Linked DNA regions of Homo sapiens: region 2 is linked to region 1. Evidence: promoter capture Hi-C in 16 types of primary human blood cells and fetal thymus (Javierre and others, 2016). All regions are on one chromosome and are shown on one strand. Each heading gives the region's core, a stretch centred on a gene start or on the middle of the fragment in contact. The rest is flanking DNA. Distances are from core to core; before and after follow the strand shown. Region 1 holds the start of AMDHD1 (amidohydrolase domain containing 1). Region 2 overlaps LINC02453 (long intergenic non-protein coding RNA 2453).

Region 1 (7,188 bases), core at 1,771-4,270:
TGACAGTTTAATTGGCTTCTAGGAAGGAAAATATAACACCCACCAATTTTTCCTTCAACATTTTCCATTTTTGCCCCTCCTCTGAAGTGCTAAAACAAATGGTCCTTGTGTATGAATCTATATTTTAATTCCTGTTTGTTTTGTTCATTTAGACATTTTCATCTAGGTTTTAGCCTTTGGATGGGACAATTGTCAACTGGATGACAGTTTGTGCTTCTTTTCCACACCTGGGAGCCTCTTCAAGATTAACTGCAATCTACACACACACACACACACACACACACACACAGAGAGAAAGAGAGAGAGAACTTAATTTAAGAATGAGATACCTTTAGAGACCTAAATGAATGAACACAATGGTGGAATTTACACCCTATGGCAGACAATCACTGAGATATTTATTTTTAGGAAGGGGGAGTTTCTGGTGTCCCTCAAACCATATTCTTTTCCAGGACTCATTTTATATATCTATAGCATATAGGGGATTAACTATTAGTTGATCTTACTGAGATTCATTCTAATCAGGACACACCATGGTATGTATATACTTGTTGGGAAAAAAAAAAACACACACTGTTAAAATCCATCCAATTCTGGGCTTTGAAATGGAACTTTCTTCCACTTCTCTGTGCTTTTAATCAGTACCCCTCTCCCTATACACACTCACACTCACAGCCTGTGTTCTTCTTGTCTACCAAAAGAAGAGCAGGATTAAGTTGTCCTTGAACACACAGGTTCTGCATAAGGGAAGTGATGTGAAAATTTAAGACAATCACCTAAATAATTCACCCTGAAAACACTTTTACCTTAAAACATTCAGATAATGAGGTGGGAGATATATTTCAAAGCATCTCAAATAACCAGATAATTATTCCAATTCTATACTTGATTTTTGCACCAACCTAATATATAAGACAGTGATGATAGTAAGTGAAAATAAAAACAACACCATCCTGTACCGAGCTAATCATATTTGAATGGCAAAGTTCTCAATATTCTTGTAAATTTATTTCATTGTAATAAATCCAACAAACTGTGAGAACAATGTAGCAGACTCAAATGAAAAAGCCCCATCTTCCAGACCACAAGTCAGCTCCCTCCTTTTCCTTTCCCTACTTTTTGTGGTTTTGATGTGAACATAGAACATGTCTTGGAACCCAGGACTTCATGTTGGTGCATTAGTATCATTTTATTTATGTATTTATTTATTTATTTTTGAGACAGAGTCTCGCTCTGTCACCCAGGCTGGAGTGCAGTGGCGAGATCTCAGCTCACTGCAACCTCCGCCTCCCGGGTTCAAGCGATTCTCCTGCCTCAGCCTCCCGAGTAGCTGGGATTACAGACGTGCGCCGCCATGCCCGGCTAATGTTTGTATTTTTAGTAGAGATGGGGTTTCATCATGTTGGCCAGGCTGATCTCGAGCTCCCAACCTCAGGTGATCCACCTGCCTCAGCTTCCCAAAGTGCTGGGATTGCAGGCGTGAGTCACTGTGCCTGGTCGCATTGATATAATTTTTATAAGATACTCCAGTCCCAACCCAGGTACATATTTTTCAACTTTCTAAGCAAAATTTTAAATAATATTTTCATAGTAAATTGGGAATGTTTTCATCCCTTAATTAAAAATAAACCAGTCAAGCTGGGCGTGGTGGTTCACGCCTGTAATCTCAGCACTGGGAGGCCAAACCAGGTGGATGGCTTGAGCCCAGGAGTTCAAGACCAGCCTGGGCAACACAGTGAGACATTGTCTCTACAAAAAATACAAAAATTAGCCTGGCGTGGTGGCGTGCACCTGTAGTCCCAGCTGCTTGTCAAGCTGAGGTGGGAGGATGGCTTGAGCCTGGGAGGTGGAGATCGCAGTTGAGCCTGGGAGGTGGAGCCAAGATCATGCCACTGCACTCCAACCTGGGCAACAGAGCTAGACCCTGTCTCAAAAAAACAAAAAATAGGCTGGGCGCAGTGGCTCATGCGTCTCAAAAATAAATAAATAAATAAATAAATAAATAAATAAATAAATAAATAAAATTAAACCAACCCACAGTCCCTTAAAAGCTGGGCTCTTGCACAACCCTAAACTGCCTCAGATAAGCCGTGGTCAGTTTGTGAGACTCATTGATCGTGTGCAATTGTGGTCCCATGGCACGCTTTGGATTCAAATTCTCATCCAACTTCCCTTGCTACCCCAGGTCGCCCTCAAACTTTGTTCTTTTATTCATATCTGGCAGGAAGCTCAGATGAGTAAGAGAAATATCTTGTTTTCTGATGGTCAAATCTTGATTTATTATCACTCAGGGCCATTATCGTCTAAATGTTCTCCGTGGTTCTAAAGCTTTAGTGTACGAGATCACGAGGATGTGAAAGGTACTTTTGAAAAATTCAGGTCTCAGAACTCCAGCCCCAGTGATGCTGATTCTAAAATTCTAGGGATAGGGAGTGGGGGACGCAGGTGGAATCAGAAATCTGCCGTAAGAATAAAATAACCACAGGCCACCCTGACAAAGGTGGTCTTCTGGCCTCCCTTTAAGAAGCACTGGGGAGGACCTCAACCCCTTCTGATGGTTGGACAGTGATATTTTACCAGCAGAGGCAGGACCCTGATGCGTTCCAATGGGGTGTTCCTCTCTGAGCTCTTTGGACGGAATGACAACCCCAAGCAGCAGAGCGTGTTAGCAACAGGTACCCCAAAGGCTGGCTTGCCCGTGTATCTCTGTGCAGGGACGCTTTCACGGCGTTGTTTCCCTCCAGAGTGCACAGTGAGAGGAAGAGCGGCCAGCTCCGCCCGTGGCGGTCCCCACCCTGCGCGCCCGGCCACTTACTTGCCCACCACCAGGCTGGCGCCTTCCAGCACCGCCAGGCTGCGCAGCGCATCCCGCGCCAGGAAGCGCTCGCCGCGGGCGCACACCAGCACCACTTGCTGCGCGTTCTCCAGCAGGAGGCTGTGGCCGCTTGCCATGTCGCCTCGCGCCGAGGGTCGCCGGGAGGCCACCGGGCTCGGGCCACCGGCAGGACTCAGTGGAGGACGAAAAGCCGCAGCCTGCGCTGTCCGGGGCTGGGAGGGTGGGGCGGGGGCGGGCGCTCGCAGCCGCTGCCCTTTGCTCGCCTCCCCCAACCACAGCAACGGGGGCGGTAATCATTGCAAGAATGGCAACGAGTAATAAACCTGATGAGGAATCCTCTCTTTTTTGGTCGTCTTGTCCCATCCCGAGTAAACGAGATGGAGACTAGTGTCCCTACTTTTCAGATAAGGAAACTTAAGCTTGGTCACCCCGAGAGATCAAAGTGAGCTGTGTGGATCACGTGGTATGTGGAAGCGCGTCAAGGGTTGGCTGGGTGAGGGCACCCGGAGTGTTCGGGAGTGAGGGACCGGAACCTGGGGTAGAGCCCCGGAAGGGGGGCCATGGGGGAAACCTCTGCCCGGGGGGTTGGGGTGGGAGCCTGGAGATAGCGCTCCTGGAGAGGGCAGAGTAGGGGAAAGCTGTGCCCAGGGGCAGGGACGGGAGCTTGGAGGTAGAGCCCCGGGAGAGGACAGAGTGGGGGAAACCTCTGCCTAGGGTGCTGGGACGCGAGCCTGGAGGCAGAGCCCCGGGAGGGTACTGCGTGGAGGAAACATCTGCCCACAGGTTCTGGGGCGGGAGCCCGGGACGCGGAGGGCCGCGAGCCGAGGGAACCTGGGGGTGGGGAGGAGGGGGATGCGGTAGGGGAGGTGCTCCTGGGTCCGCGCGGGTGGCGGGTGCCCCGCACTTATCCGTTGGCCAGCTGCGTTCCGGGATCAGCTACCAGACGGTCCCTGAGATGACCGGGAACCGGGCTGGGGGAGGATAGAGCCGAGACTGGAGGATCGATTGGCACCTCCGCCCACTTTTCCCACAACGCCTTCCCGAACGATAGGTTGGAAAGGCTCCTGGATCCAAACTCGCTGAGGTAAAATAGGTTTCAGCTCAGTGTCCGCCCCTCCGCATGCCCCCTCCCACCCCTCAGCTGTGTCTGGTGGGCCTACAAGCAACTTGCGACCAAAATTGGAGACAGAATCAAGTTTATGGAAGATGGTCTGTGATTCTCAGCCTCGTCGCTTCCTGCTACCAATTGCTATGGAAACACTGCCAGGCCCAGGCTTTTGAGTCCTTAATTACTTGATTTCGTTTATTCATGTTTATCACAAGCTCTGTGTTAAGTCTTGTGGAACATACAAAGATAGGAAAGGCGCTTTCCCTGCCCAGTAAAGACTTTACAATAAAAGTGATAGATGTGGACACAAATAATATACTATAAAAGCAGACTAAGCCTGCAAACCCACAAAATATAAAAGTTAATTTAGTCTCATTAAAAAAACCTGGAACAGAAAGCAAACACTCCTTTAGATGACCACGATAAATAAGAATATAATTTAGCTTCATATTATGGCCTATAAAAGAGAGATCAGTTAGGAAAGAGAAAGATAAAAATTGGAAAATATATAGACAATGTGAGTGAAAGAGACCCTAAGGGTGGGGGGGAGGGGGCATCAGAAGATTATTCACAGCTCATATACACAATCACAAACAGGTTGTTTGTGTGTGTGTGTGCATAGCTTTTAAAAAGTTTATACATACATATATTTCTATGTCTTTAAAAAGAGAAGTAGAAATAGTGGGGAATAGAAACACATAAAGTCACTAATTCACAGAGAAATATTAAAATTTTCTATTATAAAATTTCTGCTGAAGACTTTAATCAGTTACATTTTGCAATTTTAGGCATATTTGCAGAACTATGCAATTGTATGTATAAAGGATGGGTTAAAATTATAGAAAAATAGGGTTCAATAAACTTGTCTTAGTCTGAGTTCTGTTTCCTATAAGCTGTTTGACCTTGGGGAATTTCTTTACAGTAATTTCTCGAAGCCTCGTTTTCTCATCCTCATCATAGGGAGAGCTGTTTCTACTTTATGGGCTTGTCTGAGTTTTAAATAAAATAAAACATAAATCACTTAGCCCAGTGCCCAGCTCTAAACAAGTAATAGGTATTATTACTATTATTCGTGTGTTTTAATCCTGCTATTTGTCTTCCTGGCCAATTAAGTTAAAGATTAGATTTCAGCCAATAGTATAGTTCCTCTCCTGACTTCACAGACCATGTACTTAAAGCTTGCAAGTTCTGGGTGAGTCTAAAAGAAATTATATTTCTTTTTCATAGGTATTTATGTTTGTGGGTGAACTGTGCATCTGATTCACAGTCCAGACAGACAACATTACCTGATAAGCTCCTGCAAACAGGAGGTTTGCAAAAGCAGAAAGGATGAGTGAATTTCTTTCCTTAGTTACTGTTCAGTAGTTATAGATGGATAAGGATGACACATTTTTCCTTGGTAATAACCAACATCCCGATAGCAGCTCTTATAAAATACTTTTCACATTATCTGACTTGTATATGCTGACTCCTTAACCCATCCTTCCTTCCTCTTGACCTCCAGTTTTTTTTTTTGTTTGTTTGTTTGTTTTTTTTCACTTCGCAAAAGGGGCAGTCAGAAATGTCAACAGAAGCGTCCATACTAAATAGCCTGACGCCAGCAGTGCCTTAAAGGTCAAGGTGAAAGTAATTTCCTCATCATTGTGCTGTGCTCTGACCTAGTCAGAAGCGGCAGCGTGCATCTAAGCAGGCCAAGGACCCAGTGGCTCCTGGCTTTTAGGTAAACAAAAAATTGCTAACTGTGATCTCCCCACACCATCCAAGGACACAGTTCACAGCCCCTTTTCCTAGTATTTGTCCAAGGTAGGCGGAGAGGAGGTGGGAAAAAAAAATGGAAGGGCATTGGGTCTGAGAGAACCAGTCTAAATCCTCATATGCATGTGAAGATAAACATTGCTTTTTATCTCACATTGAGATCATCTGGAAATTCGTTTTCATTGGGTTTTAGAGGGGGTTGTTGCAAAAAAACAAATAAACTGATTCGAATAATATCTGGTAGACAGTGTTATTATTCATTTTATTTAGAGTTGGTTTAGAAACTTAGGACTGGGCCTTATCAAATCCCACTCCTCTTTCCCCACTTCCCCTGGAGCTCAGAATGTTAAGACTCTACATGAAGCTGATTCAGGTCCCCCAGATTTGCACTGATATTGCTGGTAGACTCCTCTCCAATGACCAGGTTTCAAGAACTTTGATTGGGAGTTTCTTACAAAAAGTAGTTGTCAGTTATGCTCCCATTTCAAATGGCGGCAGTTGACAGAGTGGGCCAGAAAGAGGAAGGATCTGGACAATATCTAGTTTGAAAAAAGTATAAGGGATCACTTCTTCACAAGCCTACTATGAGCAGGCACTTTGCATATATTATCTGTGTTTGAAAATTGCACCAGGCCTGTAAGGAAGGTGTTATTATTCATACTTGATAGAAGATTCTACAGTGCATTAAGCATAATTCTCTAGACCCAAGAGAAAGAGTGGATAAGAGTCAGAGGCAGGAGTTAAACCTACCTGCCCCCAAAGGCCAGGGGTCTTTCCATAGTGCCATTCCTACTACCCTTGCAATGACACTTGTCAAGAGACCTGACTCAGAGACCACATATAATTGTACAGCTATTAAAGGAACACAACAATTAATTAAATCAACCAGCATGGGGTTCACTTGAAAGAACAGTATACATTACACCCATGTCCCTTTAGATATCTAATATATATCTCAAATTTCACATGTTCCAAAATGAGCCTCTGATCTTCCCAAGTGCCCCTTCCCCCACTGCCTTCTCTGTCTCCATTTATGGCAACTCCATCCTTTCTGCAATCAGTTCTTTATCTCATACTCCACATCCAAACCATCAGCCAATCCTGTAGACTCTACTGTCAAAACACATCTAGAATCGGACCACCTCTCACCACTTCCACTGCTATCCCAAGGAAGGGATAGCATTATCTCTTGCCTCCCAGTGGCTGTAGTCTCCTAGTAGATCTCCCTGTGTGACCCTTTTCCCTTTCTACAGTCTCTTCTCAGCTCAGCATCAGAGTGATTCATTGAATGGTTCCATTTCACTGAGAAAATGGCCTCCAGGGCCCTCGTGATCTTGGACTTCTTGTCTCTCTGGCTTCATCTGGGGTGCTGTCCCCTTTGTTCACTGTGTTTAAGGCCCACTGGTGTCCTTACTGTTCCTGAAACACACCAGGCACATTCCTCCCTCAGAGTGCACCTCTCCATGTGCTTACACTCCCATAGCACATA
Region 2 (7,273 bases), core at 1,711-4,210, 2.5 Mb before region 1:
TGATGGAGAGCCTGCTATGCCTTAGGCTTCAAGTGCCTTATATAATATTAACCATTGTCCAAGGACAAAGTTATAACAGATTTAAAGATCTTAATTGGCTTCCATTTGTGATTCTAAAATCAGGCAACATCTCATTCCATAAAATAGAATGAGTATTTCAATGAGCTGAACAGAAGAGTTTGGCTTTTATTTTATTTTTGAGACAGAGTTCCGCTCTTGGTGCCCAGGCTGGAGTGCAGTGGCACAACCTCAGCCCACTGCAACTTCTGCCTCCCAGGTTCAAGAGATTCTCCTGCCTGAGCCTCTTGAGTAGCTGGGATTACAGGTGCCCACCACCATGCCCAACTAATTTTTTGTAGTTTTAGTAGAGACGGGGTTTCACCATGTTGGCCAGGCTGGTCTCAAACTCCTGACCTCAGGTGATCCACCTGCTTTGGCCTCCCAAAATGCAGGGATTACAGGCATAAGCCACCTTGCCTGGCCAAGGTTGGCTTTATAGACAAAAAAGGGTTGAGCAAAGCAGAAACAGAAAACACAAAGTGGATTGGTGCTTTAAAGTTACTTTCCGTTTAAAGGTTAAAGCAGAGTGGACCTTCTTATCATTCCAGCGAAAACTGACCTGCTTGGGGATTTGACTATTATATCTCGCTGCTGATTTCTTTCTCTCTTTTTTTTCTCTCCTTTTTTTGAGACAGGGTCTTGCCCTGTCACCCAGGCTGGGGTGATCACAGCTCATTGCAATCCCTGCCTGAACCGGTCTTCTCACCTCAGCCTCTGGAGTAGCTGGGATCAGAGGCACGCGTCACTATGCCACTAATATTTTGTATTTTTTGTAGAGGGATGGTGGTGGTGTTGGGGGGTGGGGGCTCTCCATGTTGCCCAGGTTGGTCTTGAACTCCTGATCTCAAGCTCAGCACCTGCCTTGGCGTCCCAAAGTGCTGAGATTACAGGTGTGAGCCACCATGCTCCGCCCCCTCCTGATTTCTTGGAAGGTCAGATAAACAACTTATTTTCAGCTTAGTGGTGTGGAACTCCAGCATGAGTGACTCTATTTTGGTTTGTCTGTTGGGCCTAGTGTAGGAACTCAGTTCAAACCAATGACTTACTATACATTTTATTTAATACCATTTAATCCTTATTTAAATCCTATGAGTTTGCTATAATAATTTTCTCCTTTTTACAGTGAGGAAACTGAGGCACTGGAAGATGAAGGCTACAGAGGTAGAAAGTGATGGAGGTATGTGCAGAATACTACGGGATTACAGAGAGGGAAGGGCTGGAGTGGTCAAAGAAAGACCTATTTTTAGCTGGGCCACCAAAGAATGATGATGAACTTAGAAAAAGAATGGGGGAAATGTTTTCCAGCACTTAGGGAACAGAGAAACATTAATACAAAGGCTCAGAGCATGTGGCAATTTGGGAAAAGTGGCAATGCGGGAAAGAGTATATGGTGGAGGGGCTGCTGCTTAGGGGACTGGAGTGGCAGGGGGCAGGAAATGTCTTCACCTTTCATTATAATGCATGACTGGGGAGAATTAAACATCACAATCTTTGAGGAACTGACAGGAACCTTACCTATCTTCTTGATCCTTTCGTTATACAGATAAGGAAACTGAGGCCAGACAGCTCCAGTGATTTAACTAAATTCCTGTGGCCGAGAACATCACCTTTATCTGTTGCTGTAAATTAAGGAATCTGTGGGCTTAGTGATTAGGTGTCCCTCAGAGGTTTTCAGGGCCTCAGATCTTGCCATCACTTTCCTTAGAGTTATCTGTTCCTGGGCTGGCCTAAGCTTCCTGTCCTTTAAGGAACCTGCCTGCCAACATTGGCCCCAACCCAACAGGAGATCAGTGACCTCCGTTTTCCTGACTTTTTTCCTGCCCTACTGACCACCTGCTGACCTATCCCGGTTAATAGCTTTACTGATCTGTCTAGCTTTGAGGCAAACACTAGCCCCAGTGTGAGGAACAAAGGGTCCTGGTGACCCACACCCCCTGGCCCTTTGGCATTCAGTCCTCAGGCTACCCAGAAGGACAAATTATTCAGCCTGTTTGGGGTGGGATGGAACAGTTTCTACTTCTTTTCTTTGGATTTTTTTTTTTTTTTTGAGACCCGTCTCACTCTGTCACCCAGGCTGGAGTGCAGTGGTGTGACCTTGGCTCACTGCAACCTGCGCCTCCCAAGTTCAAGCAATTTTCATGCCTCAGCTGCCCGATTAGCTGGGACTACAGGTGCGGGCCACCATGCCTGGCTAATTTTTGTATTTTTAATAGGGATAGGGTTTCACCATGTTGACCAGGCTGGTCTCAAATTCCTGACCTTGTGATCCGCCTTGGACTTCCAAAGTGCTGGGATTACAGGTGTGAGCCACTGCGACAGGCCTTTTCTTTAGTCTTTCCGTGTTTTCTAAACACAAAGCAACAGAAAAACTTCTGCTTCAAATGCATGACTCAGGTCTGGCATTCAAGTTGCTGCTATTTTGGGAAAAAAGCTGCCTGTAGCTTTTGAAATTTCTTATTCTCCTACCTGTGATTAACTCATATGATTAGCAAAGTTTTATTATCAGAATTTATCAATAAAATGAAGTTAGTGATCTAGAAAATAAGAAGAGAACCAGCACAAAATAGCACGCAGAATCCCATTTTTTTTCTATGCATTTGTAAGTACTGGAAACGTCTGGTGGCTGGGTGCGGTGGCTCATGCCTGTAATCCCAGCACTTTGGGAGGCTGAGGCGGGAGGACCACTTGAGGTCAGGAGTTCGAGACCAGGCTGGCCAACAGAGTGAAACCCCGTCTCTACTAAAAATACAAAAATTAGCTGGGCGTGGTGGTGGGTGCCTATAATCCTAGCTACTCGGGAGGCTGAGGCAGGAGAATCACTTGAATCTGGGAGGCGGAGGTTGCAGTGAGCCTAGATCGCGCCATTATACTCCAGCATGGGGACAGAGTGAGACTCCGTCTCAAAAAAAAAAAAAAAAAAAAGGAAGAAAGAAAGAAGAAAACATCTGGAAAGAAGTAGCTGAAGATATTAAAAGTAGTTATATCTGGGTTAAGAGTGTGTTGATGATCGCTGTTCTTTTTGCTATTCCACCTTTTCTAAATTTTCTACTATGTGCATATATTGAACTCAGAAAAGCAAACAATAAAATTTTCTTTAAAGTTATTAATATTAGGCAAAGCAAATAGCTCAAATGTACATTTGTGATAGTCCTCTTAGCCTATGACATGTTGAGTAATGTATTCTAGTTTGGTTTTCCTTGTTAGCCAGATTTCATTATTTTGCAGCTTAAGTTGTTTATTTCTAGTTCCTTAAGGTGGGGAGGAGGTGAGGAGGTGAGGAGGGTGAAGAAGCAAATTCCACTTCAGTAAAACAGGGCGTGCAGCCTTTTCCCCTGAGTCCCTTTGTCTCAAGGCCCCTGTGTTCCGGGTCTTTTGTTGTTCTCTGCATGGACTTTGATTCGAGATTTAAAGAAAAACAAGTGCTGGCCCTCCTTGCGCCCTCTGGTGTCCCAGTGAGGTATAACCGGACAAACCGCACAAAGATCACAGCCATTTTCACACAGCGCTCCCCCGACACAGTGATGCCTGGAGACGGGAATGTCTGGAATCTTAGAGGAAGGAATCACACACCGACAAGCATGGCAGGCTTAGTCTTTGAAACTTAATCAGAGCCTGTAAGTATGGATACTGTTTTTTAAAAAATTAAAAGCAGTATCTGGACTGCAAGTATTTAAAAAACCTAATAGGAAATAAGTCAACTCTCAAAGCATTTGGCACAGCTTTCTGGGTTCTAAAACTAAGAAAATCTTACTACATATGTTGTTTTATAAATACAGCATAAACCAGTACTTTGTTATTTGTTTTAAAAATTTCTTTTAGAGACAGGGTCTTGCTCTGTCACCCAGGCGGGAGAGCAGTGGTGCAATCTTAGCTCACTGCAGCCTTGAATTCCTGGCCTCGGGTGATCCTCCATGCTTCCGCCTCCCAAAGGACTGGGTTTACAGGTGTGAGTCACTGTGCCTGGCCTAGAACTTTGGATTAATTGCAAATAAATTAGGTGAAAGAGAGGTCTGGATACCTAGGCTTTAGCTTGACTGAGGATAATGATTTCCGCAACTTTAAGCTTTACCATGTAGACCAAAAATAAAATTCTAAGCTCCCCAATCAGTTGAATGGATGCCTCCTTGTCCAGGGGCATTCCAAAGTTACCTGAAACGCTAGTTCATGTCATGATGGGAACAGGTGGTCAGACAAGCCTCATTATACTCTCCTCCCTTTGGGACAGAGTCCCTTTGGGATTCAGGCACATCTGACCAGCATTAACATAAGTCTGACAAAGAAGGCTTTTTGTAGCAGTAAGATACCAACATGACAGACAGCAGGCCCTGAAGTAAATTGAAGTAGTTTACCCCAAAAAATATATATATATTTTTGACACATTTTGAAATGGCCCTGCAAAGGTGTCTCTTGTGGGGAAAATCTACTTTCAGTAGAGAATCCCCTTCCCTTTCCAGATATTTTTCCTTAACCAGGAGAGAATTTACTGAGAGTCTTGCACCTTAAAAAGGTAAAAAATAAAATTTTTGGCTGGGCATGGTGACTCACGCCTATAATCCCAGCACTTTGGGAGGCCAAGGCAGGTGAATCACCTGAAGGTCAGGAGTTCGAGACCAGCCAGGCCAACATGGTGAAACCCCATCTCTGGCTAATACAAAAATTAGCCAGGCATGGGGTGGGGGTGTGGGCGCCTGTAATCCTAGCTACTTGGGAGGCTGAGGCAGGAGAATTACTTGAACCTGGGAGGTGGAGGTTGCAGTGAGCCGAGATCACACCATTGCACTCCAGCCTGGGCAACAAGAGCGAAACTTCGTCTCAAAAAATAAAATAAAATAAAATAAAATAAAAAAAATAAATAAAAATTAAAAGTTTTACAATCTGACCTGGTGCTGTGGCCCACTCCTGTAATCCCAGCACTTTGGGAAGCCGAGGCAGGTGGGTTGCTTGAGCCCAGGAGTTCGAGATAAGTCTGGGCAACACGGTGAAACCCTGTCTCTACTAAAAATACAAAAATTACCAGGACGTAGTGGCGCGCATCTGTAATCCCAGCTACTCCAGAGGCTGAGAGGTGCGAGGATGGCTTGAGCCTGGGAGGTTGAGGCTGCAGTTAGCTGAGATTGCACCACTGCACTCCAGCCTGGGTGATGGAGTGAGACCCAGAAATAATTACAATGTGTTCTTTCTGAAGCCTGCTACCTGGAGGCTTTATCTGCATAACAAGAACCTTGGTTTTCGCAACCCCTTATCTTAATTCAGGCACTCCCTTCTATAAATTTCAGGTCTTTAGATAAACTCTTTCAACTAACTCCCAATCAGAAAATCTTTGAATTCACTCATGATGTAGAAGCGCCCCATCCACCCTCACTGAACCAATGTACATCTTACATGTATTTTTTGATGTCTTCTGTCTCTCTAAAATGTGTAATAAAAAGCTGTAGTCCGACCACTTTGAGCACACGTTCTCAGGATTTCCTGGGGCTGTGTCACTGGCCATGGTCACTCATATTTGGCTCAGAATAAGTCTCTTCAAATATTTTACAGAGTTTGACTCTTTTCTTCATCGACAATCAATATGTGAGAGTTGATACTGAAGGTCCCTTTTGTCTATAATATACTTCATTCTATCGCATTTTTCACCAGACTGTTTTGTTTGGTTTTTATAGAGATGAGATCTCACTTTGTTGCCCAGCCTGGTCTCTTGGGCTTAGGAGATCCTCCCTCCTCAGCCTTCTAAAGTTCTGGGATTACATGTGCGAGCCCCCACCCTCAAACTGTGCCTTTTTTTTTTTTTTTTGAGCCCGAGTCTCACTCTGTCACCCAGGCTGGAGTATAGTGCCACGATCTCGGCTCACTGCAACCTCCACCTCCCGGGTTCAAGCATTTCTCCCTGCTTCAGCCTCCCGAGTAGCTGGGATTACAGGCGTCCGCCACCATGCCTGGCTGATTTTTTTTTTCTTTTTTTTTGTATTTTTAGTAGAGACAGGATTTCGCCATGTTGGCCAGACTGGTTTTGAACTCCAGACCTCAGGTGATCTGCCTGCCTCAGCCTTCCAAAGTGCTGGGATTGCAGGTGTGAGCCACTGCACCTGGCTAAACTGTGCTTTTTAAAATTGTATTTCCACTAAAAAAATGTAGATGTAAAATATTTTTGGTTTAAATACTTGATTGATAAGATCTCAGGCGTGGTGGCCCATGCCTGCAATCCCAGCACTTTGGGAGGCTGAGGCGGGTAGATCACCTGAGGTCAGGAGTTCGAGAGCAGCCTGGCCAACATGGTGAAACCCCATCTCTACTAAAAATACAAAATTAGCCTGGCATGGTGGCATGCGCCTGTAATCCCAGCTCGGGAGGCTGAGGCAGGAGAATTGCTTGAACCTGGGAGGTAGAGGTTGCAGTGAGCCGAGATCACACCATTGCACTCTAGCCTGGGCAACAAGAGTGAAACTCCATCTCAAAAAAAAACAACAACAAACAAACAAACAAAAAAACCTCAGGCATTACAGTTTTATTTGAATAGGCAATTCATGCACACAGAACAAAGTTCAAAAAGTACCAGATACCAGGAGGTATAAGGTATGGAGAGGAAAGTCTTTCTCCCATTTTTTCTTCTCTTTTCTTTCTTTTTTTTTTTTTTTTTGAGACAAGCTTCTTTCTGTCACCCAGGCTGGAGTGCAATGGCGTGATCCCAGCTTGTTGCAACCTCTGCCTCTCGGCTTCAAGCAGTTCTTCTGCCTCAGCCTCCAGAGTAGCTGGGATTATAGGCATGCCACCATGCCCGGGTAAGTTTTGTATTTTTTAGTAGAGACAGGGTTTCACTAGGTTGGCCAGACTGGTGTCGAACTCCTGGCCTCAAGTGATCTGCCTGCCTCGGCCTCCCAAAGTGCTGGAATTATAGGCATGAAACACATGCCCAACTTCTCTCCCATTTCTAACTCACAACAATTCTCTTGAGTGATGTTGGGGTTGGTCTGGCAGCTCAACAAGGCCATCATAGGCTTTGAGTACTCTCTTCTTGTTCTGGGTCTTTCTTCTCTGCTACCTTTAGCAAAAGGACATTTCTTTTCATGATTGTCACTTCATGTCTGCAAAGTAGCTGCTGCAGCCATCATGGCCAGTTTCAAGGCTGGAACATGAGGGAAGAGGCAGCTCCAGCACACTATACTTTTGAATGTCCCTTTTTACTGGGAGAAAGCCTTTCCAGGGAAATCCTGACAGT

The links. Contacts are between HindIII fragments. The CHiCAGO score rates a contact against its expected background, and 5 or more counts as called.
Region 2: a contact is called between a fragment that was not itself captured here and the fragment with the promoter of AMDHD1 in region 1, in 1 of 17 cell types (non-activated CD4 T cells). The highest score is 5.6, in non-activated CD4 T cells.

The regions. Positions count from the first base shown.
Region 1 is chr12:95,939,163-95,946,350 of GRCh38, reverse strand. AMDHD1 (amidohydrolase domain containing 1) reads right to left here and starts at 3,020. Exons shown (of 9, transcript NM_152435.3): 1 at 2,816-3,020. The coding sequence starts at 2,952. CCDC38 (coiled-coil domain containing 38) reads left to right here and starts at 3,737. Exons shown (of 16, transcript NM_182496.3): 1 at 3,737-3,920. The HindIII fragment of the contact is 927 bases long and covers 2,331-3,257 here.
Region 2 is chr12:98,487,395-98,494,667 of GRCh38, reverse strand. It overlaps LINC02453 (long intergenic non-protein coding RNA 2453), which reads left to right. Exons shown (of 4, transcript NR_038383.1): 3 at 1,184-1,237. Among named protein-coding and RNA genes, the nearest start is that of TRD-GTC1-1, 12 kb to the left of the region's middle. RefSeq lists a silencer at 3,843-4,137. The HindIII fragment of the contact is 2,331 bases long and covers 1,795-4,125 here.